2 separate regions of the Homo sapiens genome follow, and region 1 is linked to region 2. Evidence: promoter capture Hi-C in human tissues and cell types (Jung and others, 2019). All regions are on one chromosome and are shown on one strand. The core of a region is centred on a gene start or on the middle of the fragment in contact, and the rest is flanking DNA. Distances in the headings are between cores, read along the strand shown. Region 1 holds the start of FGR (FGR proto-oncogene, Src family tyrosine kinase). Region 2 overlaps LOC101928391 (a long non-coding RNA gene).

Region 1 (4,236 bases), core at 695-3,194, 600 kb after region 2:
CTGGAATTCTGGTCCCTACTGTTGGCCCTGCAGGTTGCCAACTCCCAAACCTCCATCTTCCCATCTGTGAAGTGGGAACAGGGTCCTGCTCTCCCATCATCACCACAGTCGGAAGGATGCCAAGGACATCAGGGCCCCTGAGAGTACACACCCGAGGGGCGGCCAACTGGATGCAGCACCAGAGAGGGTGTGAGACAGATTTTAACTCTGCTGACCTCCCCAGTATGGGCTCTCATCAGAGCCATAAACTATTTAGACGCCAACTGTGTGCTGGTCCCTGGAGGCCCTGTCAGTGAGAGCCGGGCAGTCTGGTCCCCCTCCATGCTTTTTGTTGTTGTTGTTGTTTACAGACAAAATCTCACTCTCTCATCCAGGAGCTCTCACTGCAGCCTTGAACTCGTGGGCTCCAGCGATCCTCCGGCCTCAGCCTCTGGAGTAGCTGGGACTACAGCAGGTGCCACCACTTCCAGCCTTCTGGCTAACTATATTTTTTTGTAGAGACAGGACGGGGGTCTCCCTGTGCTGCCCAGGCTGGCCTCCTCTGCATGTTTTTGAGAAGGTGAAGGGGAGGCTCGCTGAGTCAGGGATAGCCCTTAACCCTTCAGGACACTCAGCAAAAACTGCTTTCTGCACCTGATTCTCGTGGGGGAAGAGTGGACACAAGGATCATTTCTCACCATAGTTCAGATGAGGAAAGTGAGGCCCAGAGAAGCCCTGTAACTTGCCCACAGTCACACAGCAATTAAGGGCCCAGTCTTGCTAAGAACCCAGGTCTCTCAAACAGCAGATCCTCCACCCCAGGATCCCTGAACACAGCGGCATCGCCTCCTACCTCGGTCGGGAAGCCCACCCCCCACCCACCAGACCGAGGATTCCAAAAGGGGGCGAAGGCGGAGAGCAAAGGGGGCTGCGCCCACCCGGAGCCCCGCGGCGGCCCAGCGCGGCCCGCCCTCTCGTTGCCTTGGAGGCAGCCCCTGCGGGCACTCGCGGTCAAAGGCAGGATTTCCGTCGGGGCGGCAGCAATTCCCGGATCCAGCGGGGAGCGCGGGCCGAGACCGCCGCGGGCGCGGAGGGGGCGCCCGGAGAGGCCTGTCCCTGCCGAGGGCGGGGACTTCCCCAGGAAGCGGGGACCCACGCCTCGCGCGCCCGGCAGGAGTCCCCTGCAGCCCGGAACCTACCGCAAGGGCGGGCCGAGAGGGTCGCGGGGCCGCGGTCGCGGCCGCTAACGTTACCCTGCGGGCTGTGGGCTTCACCCCGACTTCGGCCGGCTCGGAAGAGGGGAACTTCCTGGACCCGCAATTGCACCCCAGGTTCTCCGTCCTCCAGAAGTCGTTCTCCTCAACCCCCTTCCCGCCAGCTCCCTCTCCTGTTCCCTCCAGCACCCCCACCCATTTCCCCTCTCCTGGACCCATCAGACCCGTCGGCTTCTCCCCAAAGTCCCACTCTCACGATCCCTTCAGTTTCTCCCCCAGACCGTCCTGGGGATTCCCCTTAATCCTTCTCCCCCACCTCAGCCCCCTTCCTAAACTCTTATCAGTCCCCTCCATTTTACCCACTAGACCTTTTTGGGGGTCCCTTTGGTCGGCTTCCCCCGTGCTCCCCTCCGCCCTCTCCTCCAGGTTTATCAGCCTTGCTTTTCAGGTCGCCCGTTTTCCTCCTTAGGCCTTTTCGGGCTGGGGTCCCTTTGGCTGTCACCTTGCTCATGTGTCCCCCGACCCCCAGGTTCAGGCTTCTCTTCCCGTGTACCCCCAGTCCTCTCTCCAGAGCCTCGAGGGGGAGGGCACTGCTTGACCTGCCCAGTCCCCACCCGACGCTGTCGCTTACCTGGAGCCCAATTCTGCCCGGCCCCGGGGTGAGCCAGCCGGGGCTCCAGCAGCCGCGAGTGCCGGCGTGCGGGGAGAACTGGGGTGCTGCCCGCCTCTGACCGCCGCCCCTGCTGGGCAGGGAGGAGGAAGCCGCCTCGGACTTCTCTTATTGCAGTCACGGCCGGCGGGCGGTGATGGTGGCAGGGAGACAGTCACGCCCTAGCCCCAAGCCAGCTCCCCGCAGCGAGGAGGCGCCCCCAGATCCTAGGCCCACCCGCCCCCACCTTCCTCCTCCCTGGTTTACGGGAGGTCGGCTCTGTCACCCTCCAGACCTGAGTCCCCAGCCCGGCCTTCCCAAAAGCCCCCTCCAAAAGCGCAGTTTCAGCACCCCCGAAGCACCTGCTCTTTTAGGATCATTGAATTGGAGGTTAAGAGGGGCTTTTCTCCATCACTGAGGACCAGATCGGGACTGGCCTTACTCGAGTTCTCACAGCCAGTTGACTTCAGACTGCTGTCACCAGAGCCACTGGACATGGATCACATGGACCCTGTCAGCACGCCTTCCCTTCCTCAGGGGCTGAGCACTGGGGACACAGGGCTGTTAAGGGTGGTGAGCAGCAGAAGACCCTTCCCTTAGGAAACTGCCTTTCAGAGGAGTGGGAAGGGTGTCAGCCTCCCCCAGGCACCCAAGTTTTAGAAAAACTGAGTAACTGGCTGGGGGCAGTGGCTCAGCCTGTAATCCCAGCACTTTGGGAGGTTGGGTGGGAGGATTGCTTGAGCCCAGGAATTCCAGACCAGCCTAGGCAGCATAGGGAGACACCATCTCTACCAAAAAAAATTTTTCTTAAGTTAGCTCGGTGTGGTGGTGTGCACCTGTGGTCCCAGCTACTGCAGAGGCAGAGGTGGAAGGATCCCTCGAGTCAGGCAGGTCGAGGCTGCAGTGAGCTGTGATTGAGCTACTGCACTCTACCTTGGGTGACAGAGCAAGACCCTGCCTTAAAAAAAAAAAACACAAAAAAAGAATGTGGGTTTTGTTGCAGAAAATGACTTTTTTTAAAAAAAAGAAAGAAAAGGCCGGGTGCAGCGGCTCACGCCTGTAATCCCAGCACTTTGGGAGGCCGAGGCGGGTGGATCACGATGTTAGGAGATCAAGACCGTCCTGGCTAACACAGTGAAAGCCCATCTCTACTAAAAATCAAAAAATTAGCCGGGCGTGGTGGCGGGCGCCTGTAGTCTCAGCTACTCAGGAGGCTGAGGCAGGAGAATGGTGTGAACCCGGGAGGCGGAGCTTGCAGTGAGCCGAGATGGCGCCACTGCACTCCAGCCTGGGCGACAGAGCGAGACTCCGTCTCAAGAAAAAAAAAAAAAAAAAAAAAAAGGAAGAAAAACTGAGTATCTTAGAACATGTGGAAAAAGATTTTTAAAAACAAAAAGAGAAACGGTAGCATCCTCTATCAGTTCCAGTCTCTCTGTCTGATAGGGATCCCTGACCCCTCCTCAATCTGGGGTTCAGTCCCCACTCCCACCACTGTTACTTCAGCCTTAAAGCAAGAACCCGGAATATCCCTCCTGTCCAGGAGAGGAAGAGGTGTGGTGGGGAGGGCTGTTTGGTGGAGAAGGATGTGTCTGTTGGGATGTGGTGAGAGGCAGGGAGAGTGTGCGTAAACACAGAAGTGTGTGTGTGTGTGTGTGTGTGTGAGAGAGAGAGAGAGAGAGAAAGCAATGACATGATGACTTTGCTTTTGGAATCAACAACTAGGCCATGGTGTGCAGGCAAGTGTGTTTCTTTGTATGGGCAGGGGCATGTGGGGATGTGTGTGTGCATGCGTACACATGCTCAAGTGTGGCCCAATGTGCCTGGGGTAACAGAGTGGTGGGATGGAGATAAGAATGCTTTTCTCTTAGGAAATGGGAGGAGGGATGAGGAGGAAGACAGAGGAGCCAGTGGCAGTGCAGGGTCTCTGGAAGAGTGGCTTCACCCTAGCCGGGCAGCATCACCTCCGCCATCAAATGCTCCCTGCCTGGCCATCGGCCCACATGTTCAATTAGCAAACAAGCAAACGTTTATAATTGTGTCTTAGGTGCCAGCCTTAGGGAACACAGAGATGAGAGACTGGTCCCTGCTCTTGGGGGATCCCCCCAATCTATCATGCTCGCTCTGTCATCCTTCAAGGTCTGACTCACAAGCATCTGCTCTAGAGGCCTTCCCTGATTGCTGCCTCTACCCACTCCACACCCCCAGCAGAACCTCAGCATCTTCTGCCTGGGGCACCACTGGTTCCTGGGGGATGGGTGTGTGGGATATGTTTTCCTCAAGGGCAGGGGTCTGGCTCTTGTAGATGCCTCCAGTACCCACACAAGGCCCAGCACACAGTAGCAGGCTTTCTGTGTATAGGAACACGTGAATCAACCAAAGGACAAAGGAATTAAC
Region 2 (4,285 bases), core at 1,213-3,712:
GCTGGTCTCAAACAACTGACCTCAAGTGATCCACCCGCCTCGGCCTCCCAAAGTGCTGGGATTACAGGCATGAGCCACCCCGCCTGGCCACCATCAGGATCCTTAACTTCGAATACCAGAGCTGGAAGTCTAAACCATTATACAGAGGGGGAAGCTCAGGCCCACCGAGGGGAAGGGTCTTGCCCAAGCTCAGAAGCCAGATAAGGTTCTGACCCCCACTCCTTAGGGTCTCAGATGAAGTTTCTGAGCCTTTCACAGCTCCCTGTCTTTCCTGCTTGAGCAACTGGGGCCTGTGTTTGGGTACCGTGGGAGGGAGGGGTTAGGGCAAGAATACTCCAAATCAAAGCACCCGCCCAGCAGGGAAGGGGAGAAGTTTTAGTGCCTCTGAAAATACACTTTGCCTTTATGCTTTATTTCCTAAGACAGATATGTGTCACTAACGCAAGGAGATGATAGTGGGTTTTAACTTGCTTTTGTTTTTCACTATTTTGCTTCCCAGGCAGGAGGCCCAAGCCCTGACAACAGAGGTGAGAGAGGCTGTGCCAGCCCTTCTCTGGGCATGTCTGGGCTCAAGGGCCAGGCTCTGTCTCCAGTCTAGGGCCAAGCTGGGGCCTGTGGCAGGATCAGATAGAGGTGAGTGCGTTTTCTGTGAGTGACCCCATCGAGGCCTAGCCCAGAACAGGTGGGGCTCTTTCTGGGCCTGGGTGGAGATCTTTGTCACTGGGCACAGGCTCAGTTTATGACCAAGGTCAGGGCCCATCCTGGGATCAGGGAACAGGGAGAAGCAGCTCTTAGCTTCTCCCAGGACAGAACCAGCCCAGGATTCTTGTTCTAGTAGGGTGAGTTAGGCAGGCGTCTTGGAGCCCACAGGTCTTAGGCTCTTGGGCTAGAGCAGAGGCTCTGAGTGAAGGTGATGTCCCCGAGCTGAGGCCCAGGGTCTCTGACTCACCACTGGGTGGGTTTTCAGGGCAGATGAACTCCCCATCTCGACCCACATTCCCCACCTTACAGCTCAGCCACCAGGACTCTGTGAACATGACTGGCCATCTCCTTCCACTGTTCCTACTTAAGGTCCTGGTGCTTACACAAGAAAGTGGTACCACAACCAGCTCTTTCTAGTGGCAGCTGGACTTGTGGGGGCGGGGAGGGCACAGCTTCTCTAACTGTCCTCAGGGCTCTGTCCAGAGGTATGGATTCTGGTAAACTGGCTAGCTGGAAAGAATAACCAAAAGCCCTCCACCATGGTCAATTTCAGGCTACCCACATGACGCCACTACACGTGAAGTTGTGAAGAGATGTGCAGAATTGGCTCCAGCACCCCCCGTACCTGTTCCAGGACAGTCCCGTTGCCTTCCACGGGGCCCAGAAAGGGGCTGGGGTCCTGCTGGCTTGCCAAGTTAGGGTACCCTTGAGGACTTCCTGTCCTGCCCTTGTGCCTGTTGGTGTGACTGTGATTATGATTGTGGCTATAGTTGACATTGTGATTGTGATGGTTGAAGCTTCAGTTACTGGTGTGTTTTCAGTGACGGGGAGAAGAGGCCAGTGAAGTAAATGCCTCTGTCACTCAAGGGACACGGCCAGGTGCCCAGGGGTATGAGGGCCAATTAGGGCCCAGGGTCCTCAGGGCTGTGTTGTGGCTCTATGCAGGAAACTGGAAACCTGATGTGACCTAATGAACACATCTCCTGCCACTCTCCCCTTCCTCCACTGTGCAGTGATGACCTGGCCTCATGCTGCATTGAGGAGACAGGAGCCCAGCTGTGGGACGCGCTCACCTTTCCATGGTGTAATCTGTATTCCTACCTGCACCGTGCCCTTCTTCTTCTCCTTCCTGACTCACATCTGAGGTTGGGTCCCTCCTCTTATCAAAGGACAGTCTTTTTTTTTTTTTTTTTTTTTTTGAGACGGAGTCTTGCTCTCTAGCTCAGACCGGAGTGCAGTGACGCGATCTCAGCTCACTGCAACTTCTGCCTCCCAAGTTCGAGCAATTCTCCTGCCTCAGCCTTCTGAGTAGCTGGGATTACAGGTGTGCACCACCACGCCCAGCTAATCTTTTTGTATTTTTAGTAAAGATGGGGTTTCACCATGTTGGCCAGGCTAGTCTCGAACTCCTGACCTCAAGTGATCCTCCCGCCTCTGCCTCCCAAAGTGCTGGGATTACAGGCGTGAGCTACCACGCCAGGCCTAAAGGACAGTCCTTAGTGACTTCCCATTGGCTGGAATAAAATGCTGATTCTTTACGGGATGACTTTAGCCTCATCTCCCCCTTCCACCCCCGGCTCCTTGTGTTTCAGCTTCGATTGGCCCCTTTTCTGTTCTACAAGCACAACAAGCTTGTTCCTACCTCAGGGACTTGGAGCCCACAGTTGCCTCCCAGTCTCTGCGTGTCTGGTTACTCATCGTCCCAGTCTTGGCCCAAAGAGCCCTTCCCTGACCTTTCCCTCTAAAGGGGGCTCCCCAGTTACTCTCCATGTTTTCACCTTTGTTGTGGTCAGCCCAGCACTGATGGGTCACCTTGTTTACTGCAGTGTGACTTGTTTCAGGGTCTTCCCCACTAGAGTGTAAGCTCCATGAGGGCAGCGTGCTCATTGTCTGTGGTACCTGGAATCTGGCTGGTACCAGATAAATGCACATGGAATATATAGTACATGTCTGTGTTTATTTCCCCTTTGTTGTCCCTGGGCCATTGCTAACATCTTGTTTGCAGGTCCAAGCCTGGTTTCTTCTCTCCACCGGGCTCTAAAGGGAATGGGCCAAGCTTCCCCCCAACATTTGGGCCAGAGTATGAAAGAGGGGCTAGTGCTCTGCAGGTGCCCCTGTGGTGGGGGGCAGCAGAGGTTGCTGGGTGAGCTCAAGGGGCTTTGAGCCTCCTGGGGTTGAGAGGTCCGGGCGCCTCCAACTTTGATTTGCTTTTGGTACAGAGGGCAGCATTTCCTCCAGCTTCTATGTGTATCCCGGCCCCCGGGCTTCCTCTCTGAGCAGGACTTTCATTGTTTTCTGTCTGCCTTGTGCCCATTTCCTCCTTCCTCCCTCACTCCTGAGGACGAACTCCTCCTCTTATCAAAGGACAGCCCTTCCTGTCTTCCCATTACATTCAAAGCCCCTTTCTCTTTGGGGAGGAGCCCCCACTACATGAGTCTTGATGGACATCTGGGCCCTATTGCCCACTATAGAAGCTGGAGGGGACCACAGACCCCTCTTCCTACTCCCTGGCAGAGAGGACATGGGCACATAACCTGGGGCGGCCAAGGGGCGTAGCCCAGGGCTTGGAGTGAGTGATGCCAAGACAGGAGGGTAAGAATTCACTTAGAAAGGAGGCTTTTGCCAGCCCAGCCAATATGGTGAAACCCTGTCTCTACTGAAAATACAAAAAAAAAAAAAAAAAATTAGCCGGGCGTGGTGGCGCATGCCTGTAATCCCAGCTACTTGGGAGGCTGAGGCAGGAGAATTGCTTGAACCCGGGAGGCTGAGGTTGCAGTGAGCTGAGATCGCGCCACTGCACTCCAGCCTGGGTGACAGAGGGAGACTCTGTCTCAAAAAAAAAAAAAAAAGGAAAGAAAAGTGGTCTTTGGTAGCAGTTGCCAATGTGGTGTCTGATGGTGACAGTGATATCCAGATGTCTTGCAGCAGGCTTGGCCTGTCCAATGCTGTCACTTCCTTCGTTCCTGCTTTTATCTGAGCTTGGGAGGTAGTTTGAGAAGTCGCTGGTGCAGTTATGGAGGGGTGGGGAAAGCAAGATCCCTTTGGAGAGGAGCTAACAGGGTTTCCTGCCCCAGAGCTCTGCCACCACTCAGATGCCCAGAACCTGCCCCCCAAATTCCACTCTCTGAGAGTTCAGGGTTGAGCCCCCTCCCTCCTCCACCATATCTCCTGAGGCCCCTCCCACCAGGTATCCCAGCTGAAGAGGTTCTTCCCTGGGAACTGCTGCCTCAGCCCAGATTCAAGTCAGACAACAGGAAGGACTTCCTGACTGGGGGGGATGGGAGGCCCTGGACAAGGTCAGTGGGGGCATTTCTATCCCAAGACAAGGGACTGACTTCTGGAGGCCCTTTTCCAAATGACAGACAAAAAGAGCAGAGTCTTCTTCAGCCTGGCCAGGGCGGGCAGGGAAGGTTTTTAGAACAGGGTGAAGCACTTAGGGCCAAAGAGCACCAAGATTAAGAGCTCAGACTCCCTTGTTACATCCCAGCTCTGTCACTAACTAGTTGTGTCATCTTGGGTAAGCTACTTAACTCTGCTTCAGTTTTTTTAATCTGTAAAATGGGAGCAATAGTAGTACCTATCT

What was found. Contacts are between HindIII fragments. The study calls those that stand out against the background at their distance.
Region 1: a contact is called between the fragment with the promoter of FGR here and a fragment that was not itself captured in region 2, in 1 of the 25 tissues and cell types used here (psoas muscle).

The regions. Positions count from the first base shown.
Region 1 is chr1:27,633,241-27,637,476 of GRCh38, forward strand. FGR (FGR proto-oncogene, Src family tyrosine kinase) reads right to left here and starts at 1,945. Exons shown (of 13, transcript NM_005248.3): 1 at 1,825-1,945. RefSeq lists a silencer at 1,021-1,070 and an enhancer at 4,069-4,128. The HindIII fragment of the contact is 29,896 bases long and covers 1-4,236 here.
Region 2 is chr1:27,032,961-27,037,245 of GRCh38, forward strand. LOC101928391 (a long non-coding RNA gene) reads left to right here. Exons shown (of 8, transcript XR_007065559.1): 2 at 500-633. Among named protein-coding and RNA genes, the nearest start is that of TENT5B, 22 kb to the left of the region's middle. RefSeq lists an enhancer at 1,946-2,447. The HindIII fragment of the contact is 4,027 bases long and covers 450-4,285 here.